Linked DNA regions of Homo sapiens: regions 2 and 3 are each linked to region 1. Evidence: promoter capture Hi-C in human tissues and cell types (Jung and others, 2019). All regions are on one chromosome and are shown on one strand. The core of a region is centred on a gene start or on the middle of the fragment in contact, and the rest is flanking DNA. Distances in the headings are between cores, read along the strand shown.

Region 1 (3,043 bases), core at 239-2,738:
CAGTAAATCAAAACTTAAGGTTTGTTTACTATGTGGGACATCTGATCACTTGAAAATTTTTAGTGGTTCTTCGAGGCTTGAGAACTTTCTCTGGCTGAAACTTGGAGTTCACTGCAGGAATGTTTACCTTCCTTTGTTCCCTATTTTTGCAGTCTAGTTCTCTCCAATGGCAGAGTCATGCTCCTTCAGTGGGAGATGACTACTGGAATGTTTAATCCTTAATTAAATCATGCCTAAGTCTAAAACACTAAACCCTTCTCTGTCTCCACCTGCTAAGTAGCTGAATCCTCACTTGTAACTTTGTCTAGTATACATTGGAAGTTCGCTGTCACCTGGGATCAGTTCTGCCCCTGTACTGTCTAACAACATGACTATTGGTGGACCAAAGAGAGATTATTTTTCCTAGACCAGAAAGGTTTACTTTTATCTTTAGCTATCAACCCCTCCCCCCACCTTTTTATGACCTCACTTTATCTCCAAGTCACATGCTATCTTGAGTGGCACTGTTGAAGGATGCCCCAGGATAAGGGAAAAAAGGTAAGATAAATGCAAAGCAAAATAAAATGGTCAAGGACACAGGAAGGACATAATAGGGGCTAGGATGTGGGAGGCCTTGAGAATTAAGGTAAATTTGTTTGCTATGGAATGAGATGGAAGTCTTAGGAGGTCGTCATGAATAGATGTTTCACAAGTGAAAGCTGGGTGGGAGGGCTCACTTAAACATGGACTGAATGCCTACTGTGCACTAGATAGTATGCTGGGCAATCAGAGATGAATAGCAGATAAGGAAAAATAAAAGCTACAATCCTTAGAATGGTGGGTTGGAGAAGGACAGAATAAGGTTTTTAGATAATAAAAGGCAACAAGATTTAGTGATAGAGGATGGTGAGGGGAAAAGGGATATATAGAGGGATTAGAAATGGGTGCTTTGGGGAGAAAAGCAAGTGGTAATCCTAAAAGAGAAAGCTGGAGAACAAAGGATAAAAAATTAGGAGGTTGGTACTTTGCTGAACTAAGGGGTAAAATGGATGAAACCATCAGGAGCTGTGATTGCTCTTCTGTTCTTTGTGGATGCCCATGTTCAGATCCCCTACGGCCCTTTCCTCTCTGTGGTTGAAGGACAACTACAGAAGAGGTGTCTTCTGTGTTATAAGGTGCAATACTCCCCCCAGAGACCTCTCTATGAGGAAGTCTGATCCAGCGAGAGTTCTACTGCCCACGAGGGGACAGCGTTAGGTTCGAGCTCTCTAATCCAGGTTTCTTTGAGTTTATCTTGGTTCTAACCGGCACGCCGGGTTTTCCAGCATTCCCTGAGCTAAGACTCCCTAATCTGGGCTCCGGGTGAGCGCGCATTCCGAGACCCAGGATTTCGCTCCTTCATCCAGGTTCCGGGTTTCCCCTGCGCTCACCGGCTCCAGACTCCACACAAGCGCGGAATCCGGATCCGAGGGCCTGGCAGTCCAGTGTCCGCGTCTTCCGGGTGACTCTGGTTGTCCCGGATCGCGGCGGCGGCGGCGGTGGCGGCGGCTGAGGGACCCGCGGCCCCGGACACAGCGGCACCGGCCGGGCGGGGCGGAGAGGCGCGGGGAGGGGGCAGAGAGCCAGAGCCGGAGCCGGAGCCGGAGCCGGGGTGGGGTGGGGGGGAGGGGCCGCGGGAACGGATGGCGGCCTGGGCCCCGTAGCAGCGGCGGCTCTACGGCCCGGGGCCCCGGGCGGGCGGAGGTGGCGGCTCCCGGGACCGGCCGCGCGGTGAGTCCGGAGCTTTGTGTGGAGCCGGGACTGGGGGAGGAAAGAGGCGGCGGCACCGATGGGGCGCGGGGCTGAGGGGATCTGATGGGGGCCGGGGGCGGCGGCGCTGCCTGACGGAGGAAGTGGGGGTTGGGGGGGCTGGGGCGGAGCGAGGGGAAGGTGTGTAGGGGGGGTCGTTGCGTGGGTGGGGGAGGGGGCGTCGAGGGGCGCGGGGTGAAGTTCAAAGCGTGGCCACGGCCGGTTCAGGCTGAGGGTAGGGGTGCCCGGGAGGGGATTAGGGTCTGGCTAGGTTATGGGAGCAGGCCAGAGAGTTTCTGAGGCGAGTCTGGGTATGTTGAGGGCGCTCGGGGCGACTGGGGCCAGTCAGGGAGTTGGCGGGGGAGGGGGGGCGGGGGCGGTGGTGGTTGTTCAGAGCATAGGGTCGGAAGCAGGACGTGTGCGTGACCTAGGAGTGGGGAGCAAGGTGGCTGGGATCCTGCAGTAAGTAGGTTGTGGGTGTGTGCCCCTAACAGTCTTCAGGTCACATTTACTCCTGTCCTTTTCTTCAAGATGGAGGGATCCCTGGGCCTGGACCTCAACTGCTATCCTTGTACCCCCGGGAGGGTTTGTGACCCTATCCTGTTTGGAAAACCCATGCTGCCCTCTTTTCCCTTTATGTGTAATTACGGTTGGATCATCTCTGTGCTTTGCTCAGATTCTCCTTCCTCCCTCTGGGGTTGAGGAGGAGGAGACACATCTGACCAATTAATGTGTGTTTGTGAAACAGGCAGCAGCAAACAGTCATTTCAGCTTCGAGGAATTAGGCTCACACAGGGTGGAGAGATCAGAGCCCTTCAGGGGGAATATTTCTGAACAAATCACGGATGATTAAATTCTCTAAGAAACAGCTCCCTACCTAAATGAGAGTGAGAAAGATAGGGAAGAAAGCCTGTCTGTTTCCAGCCATGTGTCCAGAGCCTAAGGGGTTGAGGAGAGTCCCCAAGCCCCTACAGGCCTCCCTTTTCTGTATTAGGCTTTGCTCTGCAGCCTTGAGTTAATTTCACCCCTGCTGCTTTGTCTTGGGGGAGGGAGTGCTGGTTTAGGCTGTTGTGAGGAGATGACTGTTCTGCTGCCACACACAATAGTCGTGTCATTTTATCGGGAGCGCTACCCCAGGGCTGAGAACTGCTGCAGCAGAGATAAACCGGTCCCTCTCACCCGCCTATTGTGTACACAGTGAAGGTCATAGGTTCAAGTCTTGTCTGAGAGCTTTGGATATGCTCCATCTCCCAGGCTCCTCAGTGCCATTTTCTTC
Region 2 (3,043 bases), core at 253-2,752, 380 kb after region 1:
GAACTCCCGACCTCAGGTGATCAGCCTGCCTCAGCCTCCCAAAGTGCTGGGATTACAGGTGTGAGCCACCGCTCCCAGCTCTTTCTTTTCTTTCCTTCCTTCCCTCCGTCCTTCCTTCCTCTCTCCTTCCTTGTTTCTTTTCTTTCTTTCCTTCCTTCATTTCTCTTTCTTTTCTTTTTCTTTCTTTCCTTTTTTCCTTCCTTCCCTCCCTCCTTCCTCTCTCTCTCCTTCCTCTCTCTTTCTTTTCTATTCTTTCTTTTTCTTGACCAGTGTGATAATATCAGCCTCAATTTTCTTCATTCCTTTAGCTAAAGGATCCCAGGCCTAGGCATGAGGGAGAAGTGTACCTGCATCTCCTTCCCCCTTGGCCTGGGAGCCCCAGGCTGCCCTTTTCCGTACAGGGCTGGAAGTAGCCTGGGAGCCTGAGGGCTGGCAGAAGGCCGTGAAAGGGGAGCTTGGTCGCTGGCACAGCCGCTGCTATGGCAGCCAGAGCCGAAGAAGGTCACCATTGATCTCACATGCACTTAATTTTCCCTTCCTTGGCATGGGACGGGGTTGACCAGGAGAGCTAAGGGGGAGTATGCGTGTGTGTGTGAGAGGGGAGCGGTGCTGCAGGCTGCGATGCAGCCAGTTACTTTCTCTCTCTGGGCCTCAGTTTCTCCAATGTAAAATGAGGGCGCATGGTATAACTAAAATCATTACTCTCTGCTGGTCCCCACACTCCCACTCTCCAGTAAGGCTGTCAGGGCTGCAAGCTCACCGCGGGATCGGGGGGATGGTCGACCCTCAGATACGGGAGGGATTGAGCGATGCCCAAGGAGAGCAGGAGAACACTGCGCTTGGAGACCCCTGAGAGCCAGGGGCGGGCCGCCCCCTAAAGGGACCCCGGAGTCCCGACTCTCAGCTCCAGCTCTTCCTGTGACACCACCCTCCGGACAGAGACCCAAGCTCCAGGCCCGGCCCCGCCCAGAGGTTCCAGGGAGAAGACCAGGCCACCGCCCACTGCCCGGCGTCGGGGAGGAAAGAGGAGGAGCCTCTGTGTGCCCACATCTCTGGCCGCCCAGGGCAGCTCGGCTCGGTCTCGCAACCCCAGCCCACTGGTTCGGGAGACCTCAAAGGCTCCACCGCCAGCGCCCCCAGCGCTCACTGTGTGCGCCCCACCCCAGCCCTGCCTGCGCGCCGCTCCCGCCACCCTCGCCTCAGTCTCTGGGCCGGAAGCCCCCTCTCCTCCCCCGCCGCAGCCCCCTCCTAGTCCCTCTCCCTCCGCCGATGCGGGAAACCTTCTCCGCCCCGTCCCGCCCTCTTCCTCCAGTTGCATCTCCGCCCGGCTCCTCCGTCCAGTCTCCAACCCAGGCCCCGCCCCTCCCCACCCATTTCCCGCCCTGGGCCGGGCCCCCGGCCCCACCGCCCCCTCCCCGGCCCCGCCCCGGCCCCCGGAAGCCTCACCCCGCCCCCGGCCCCGCCCCCCCGAAGTTTCTTGGGCCCCCGGCAGCCGGCGGGACAGAACGCGGAGAGTCGCCGCCTGGCCGGGCGTAGACGCGGTGGCAGAGCCCGCGCGGCGCTGGAAGCGAGTGGCGGAGCGGCGGGACCTCGGCGGACTCGCCATGGAGGAGGAGGTGAGGGCGGGGCCCGGCGGGGCGTTGGGCTGGGGTCCTCGAGCCCCTCACGGGGATTGCGGTCCTGGGCTCAGGCCCTCGTTCCTGCCCGCCCCACTCCCGCCAGTCTCACCTCAGGAAGAGCCTGGGCAAATGGGGCAGGGGCGAGGGGCTGGATCCATATCGGGGACTTCGCAGACCGCGTCCTCCTTCATTCTCGCTGACTTTCTCACCAGTTGTGGGGCGTCGTGGTTGTTACCGTTCCCATTGGATTGACCAGGAGACTGAGACTCCAGCGAGATTGATGACTTGCTGAAAGTGGCCTGGGTGACTGGGCTCGAACCCCGATTACCGTGGTCGGATCCTGACTCTCTCTCTCTCTCTGTGTGTGTGTGTGTGTGTGTGTGTGTGTGTGTCGGATCCTGACTGTGTGTGTGTGTGTATGTGTGTGTTGGGGGGTTCCTGTCTCAAGGATCGGATCCTGACTCTGTGTGTGTGTGTATGTGTGTGTTGGGGGGTTCCTGTCTCAAGGATGTGACCATGCTTTGGTGGCAGGAGGATTGGAGAAGTTGCTTTTTTCTCCCTTGTATAAGTCTCTGTATCTTTTCCCCCACTCTCTCCCCGCTCCACATCCATCTGAGCAGCTAGCTGTAGGGAAGGAATCGGGAGTCCGGCCCACCTAGGGTCTGATCTTAGTCCCTGCCTTCCCCACCCGAGGGCTGGACCAACTGTGTCCCTGGAGCCTCCTTCTAACCACTCAAAACACTCTTGGCCTGGGATTGGGTCTTGCCCCTGCCCCTGCCCTTTACTTGCAAACTCAGTTCTGCCAGCAGCCGCTTTATCCGAGGGTCCAGCACGCAGCAAGCACTTAATATATGCCTGTGGAATGATTAAGTTAAAATGAGGGGCCTGTTGGGTCTAGAGGAAGGTGAATTTGTTTCTTATCCCCTGAGGGGGTCCCAGCTTCAGCCCCTCTCAGCCCAAGGGAAGGGGCATGTCTTTGCCTCCTTGGATGGGGAGGAAAGATGAAGTTCTCTGCCTTGGGGGAACCCTGGCCAGCTGGGAAGCCCTGAGTGGACCGGACTGCCTGTGTCCCTTCAGTGCCCACCTCCCACTTTTCCAGGGCCATGGATAGGAGCAGCTAGTGGTCCGTCAGGGCTCCCTCTAGGCCAGGCCCTGCCTTTCTGTGGGATGGTAGATAAGTCACTTCCCCTCTCAGCCTTCATTTCCTCTTCTACAAAATATAGTGCCTGTCCTCCTCATACTCCTGGCCTGACAGTGGCCGGTTCTCTCAGTGGGTGAAGGTAGGGGGCAAAGTCAGGCCTCTGTGATTTGCTGCGGTTTCTTTCTGGCTGTTAGGTGGGGCTGCCATCTGCCTGCCCCAGGCCCCTGCTGCAAGGGCTGGGCTCTCTGGCCAGGGCCCCTCCCCTGCTCCCAGAGGATGTGGG
Region 3 (3,043 bases), core at 1-2,500, 370 kb after region 1:
ACGTAATGGGTGCTATAGGGGACGTAATGGGTGCTATAAAGGACGTGACAGGGAGCAGGGTCAAGGCTACACAAGATCACGAGGACTGTCACTGGTAACACAAAGAGGTCACAAAGACGGAGAAAGGGCTTTGGGCTAACCGAAAATCCACCCTTAGAATATGCCCTGGGCCGGGCGCAGTGGCTCGCGCTTTAATCCCAGCACTTTGGGAGGCTAAAGTGGGCGGATCACCTGAAGTTAGGAGTTCTGAGACCAGCCTGGCCAACATGGTGAAACCTCGTCTCTACTAAAAATACAAAAATTAGCCGGGCGTGGTGGCGGGCGCTTGTAATTCCAGCACTTTGGGAGGCTGAAGAAGGAAGATCGCTTGAGCCCAGGAACTCGAGACCATCCTGGGCAACATAGCGACACCCTCTAATTAAAAAAAAAATACATACATATAAATACATACATATGCATACATTATATATATGTGTGTGTGTGTGTGTATATATATGTATATATATATATACACACACGCACCCTGCTACACAATTTCCATTTCTATATATCCAATTTCTATATATATATACACACAATATATATACAATTTCTATATATATACACACACACACACACACACATATACACACACACCGTGCTACACAACAATTTCCAGAGCGGCGGATGGGCACCGAGGATTAGGGAGCCTCAGGTGTCCTGCAAGGACCTCACTAGAACAGGGGTCCCTGCGCAGAAAGAATCCTCCTTCCCCGAGACCCAGGGCGAGCACATGAATCCTCAGAGTACTCTCCCCAGGAAGCAGGAGAATCGCCCGTGGGGAGATGCAAAGAGGGCTGCCGTGTAATAAGCGACTTCTGCCTTGTAGGTACATTCACTGGCTTATATGCAGCGGGCAGGTCTCACTCTTCCCCGTGTACAGACGTGGAAACAGGCTAAGAGAGGGAAACTCACTTGCCCTTCATAAGCCACAGCGGCTAGTAGTCAAAGTCAGTGTGATTCCCATGCCCTCGCGCTTCCCACCACCAAGGTGGGGACGAGGTGGAAAATATTCGGCTAGGGAAATCGCGGGGGACCCTGGGACCCTAGAAGCCGTGCTCCCTCAGGCTGACCCATTTGTTTGCACCCTCCCGCCGGAAACCCCTAGATAAATCAGGCTCTTTGCTCCCCACCTCTGGGTTCGGGCAGACACTCACTTGTGCCGACACTCAGATGAACAAGCAGATCGTAGCCGGCCTGTGGCTAAGCTCCGAAACTAGAAATTTTTCAAATGCTAGAGGCAGAAAATCACCCAATCACCGACTGGATCTTTAAATTCTCCAGCCACTCAGAGGTAGGGGCGTAACAATGGGCGTGTCTTTCTTTGCGTCTCTACTCCAGGAGCTTGGGCTGTACCAATTGCCTGCTAGAGGAAGGAGGTTTATGGTGGTGGCTGAGCATACCAAATCCAGTGGACGGCTGGGCGTGGTGGGAGGAGGCCGCCGCTGCGGCAGCCACCCGGCGGCGCGTGGTGTCGGGTCTGAAAACCCTACGCGACTCCGAAGATTTATTTTCAGAACCATCCTTCCAGCACACTCCCTCTCCCCTCTAGCCCGCACACAGAGGCTGGGCTTAGCCTTGGGGAAGATCTGCCTTTGGACTCTCACACCCCTGTTTACACTCACAGTACCATTGTCCAGTTCTGGGCAGACCACCCCAAGGCCTGCCCAATCCCTCCCCCGCCCCCAACTCTACATCCTTCTCTGCCTTTGTAAGGGACTTTACGCTTTGGCTCTCTCACCCACCTGAGGCCCATGAGTGAGAAACTCTGAGACCTGTGCCACGTGCCAGAGGGTACAGCGGAAGCGAGTAGAGTCTCTGTCTTCAGGGAAATTGTATCCCTCTTCTTGCACAGGATGCTGAAAGAATTTACTTTTAATCATCTTTATTATCTCATTGAAGCTTGGAATTACATAGCTGGAAAGGATCTTACAGGTGAGTCTGGCTACCTCATTTTACAGATAATGATAACTACCATGGATTAAATTGCCCTTTCCTTTCCTTTTTCCTTCTTAGGGCTCACTCTGTCGCCCAGGCTGTAGTGGAGTGCAGTGGCACAATCTCTGCTCACTGCAACCTCTGCCGTGGCGCGATCGTGGCTCACTGCAACCTCCGCCTCCTGGGCTCTGGTGATCCTCCCGCCTCAGCCCCCCAGGTAGCTGGAACTACAGATGCACACCCAGCTAATTTATATATATATATATATATATATATATATATATATATATATACACACACACACACATATATACACACACATATATATACACACACATATATATATACACACACATATATATATATACACACACATATATATATATAATTTTTTTTTCGTATAGACGGGATGTCACCATGTTTCCCAGGCTTGTCTCGAACTCCGGAGGTCAAACGATCCACCCACCGTGGCCTCCCGAAGTCCTAGGATTACAGGCATGAGCCCGGACCTTATTTTTCAAATGAGAAAAAAGCAAGGCTTCCAGAGATTTTACTGAAGGTCACATAGCTGATATGGAGAGCAAAACCAAACATTGAACCCAGATTACCTGCTCGCTTAATCACTCCATGGGGCTTAGCTACTACACCACACTGCTCCCAGTCTGTTAGCGGTAGAGGGTGATGACTGAAAGTTGTCCAGGTTCTTGGCGTTTTGAACAAAGAATTGGACAAAATGCCCATCAAAGCAAAGAAAGAATGAAGCAACAAAAGAACAAAAGCAGGAATTTTTTGAAAACGAAAGTACGGCTAGGCGCGGTGGCTCACGCCTGTAATCCCAGCACTTTGGGAGGCCGAGGTGGGGGGATCACTTGAGGTCAGCAGTTCCAGACCACCCTGACCAACATGGTGAAACCCTGTCTCTACTAAAAATACAAAAATTGCCGGGTGTCGTCGTGGACATCTGTAATCCCAGCTGCTTGGGAGGCTGAGGCATGAGAATCACTTGAATCCAGGAGGCAGAAGATACAGTGAGCCTGGATCGTGCCGCTGCACTCCAGCCTGAGCG

The links. The method cuts DNA at HindIII sites, captures the fragments that hold promoters and counts their contacts. A contact is called where the count stands out against the background at its distance.
Region 2: a contact is called between the fragment with the promoter of PLEKHO2 here and the fragment with the promoter of ZNF609 in region 1, in 2 of the 25 tissues and cell types used here (IMR-90 fibroblasts and adrenal gland).
Region 3: the fragment with the promoter of PIF1 here is called in contact with the fragment with the promoter of ZNF609 in region 1 in 3 of the 25 tissues and cell types used here (IMR-90 fibroblasts, dorsolateral prefrontal cortex and spleen).

The regions. Positions count from the first base shown.
Region 1 is chr15:64,459,090-64,462,132 of GRCh38, forward strand. It overlaps ZNF609 (zinc finger protein 609), which reads left to right and starts at 1,489. Exons shown (of 10, transcript NM_015042.2): 1 at 1,489-1,749. It overlaps LOC105370861 (a long non-coding RNA gene), which reads right to left and starts at 1,498. Exons shown (of 3, transcript XR_932367.3): 1 at 1,410-1,498. RefSeq lists an enhancer at 1,011-1,080 and silencers at 1,541-1,660, 1,721-1,820. The HindIII fragment of the contact is 20,496 bases long and covers 1-3,043 here.
Region 2 is chr15:64,840,413-64,843,455 of GRCh38, forward strand. PLEKHO2 (pleckstrin homology domain containing O2) reads left to right here and starts at 1,503. Exons shown (of 6, transcript NM_025201.5): 1 at 1,503-1,616. The coding sequence starts at 1,605. It also overlaps a transcript of LOC124903508 not described here. RefSeq lists silencers at 1,026-1,345, 1,356-1,795 and enhancers at 1,603-2,126, 2,159-2,710. The HindIII fragment of the contact is 9,878 bases long and covers 1-3,043 here.
Region 3 is chr15:64,824,397-64,827,439 of GRCh38, forward strand. It overlaps PIF1 (PIF1 5'-to-3' DNA helicase), which reads right to left and starts at 1,251. Exons shown (of 13, transcript NM_001286496.2): 1 at 1,173-1,251. RefSeq lists enhancers at 1-194, 1,384-1,513. The HindIII fragment of the contact is 20,575 bases long and covers 1-3,043 here.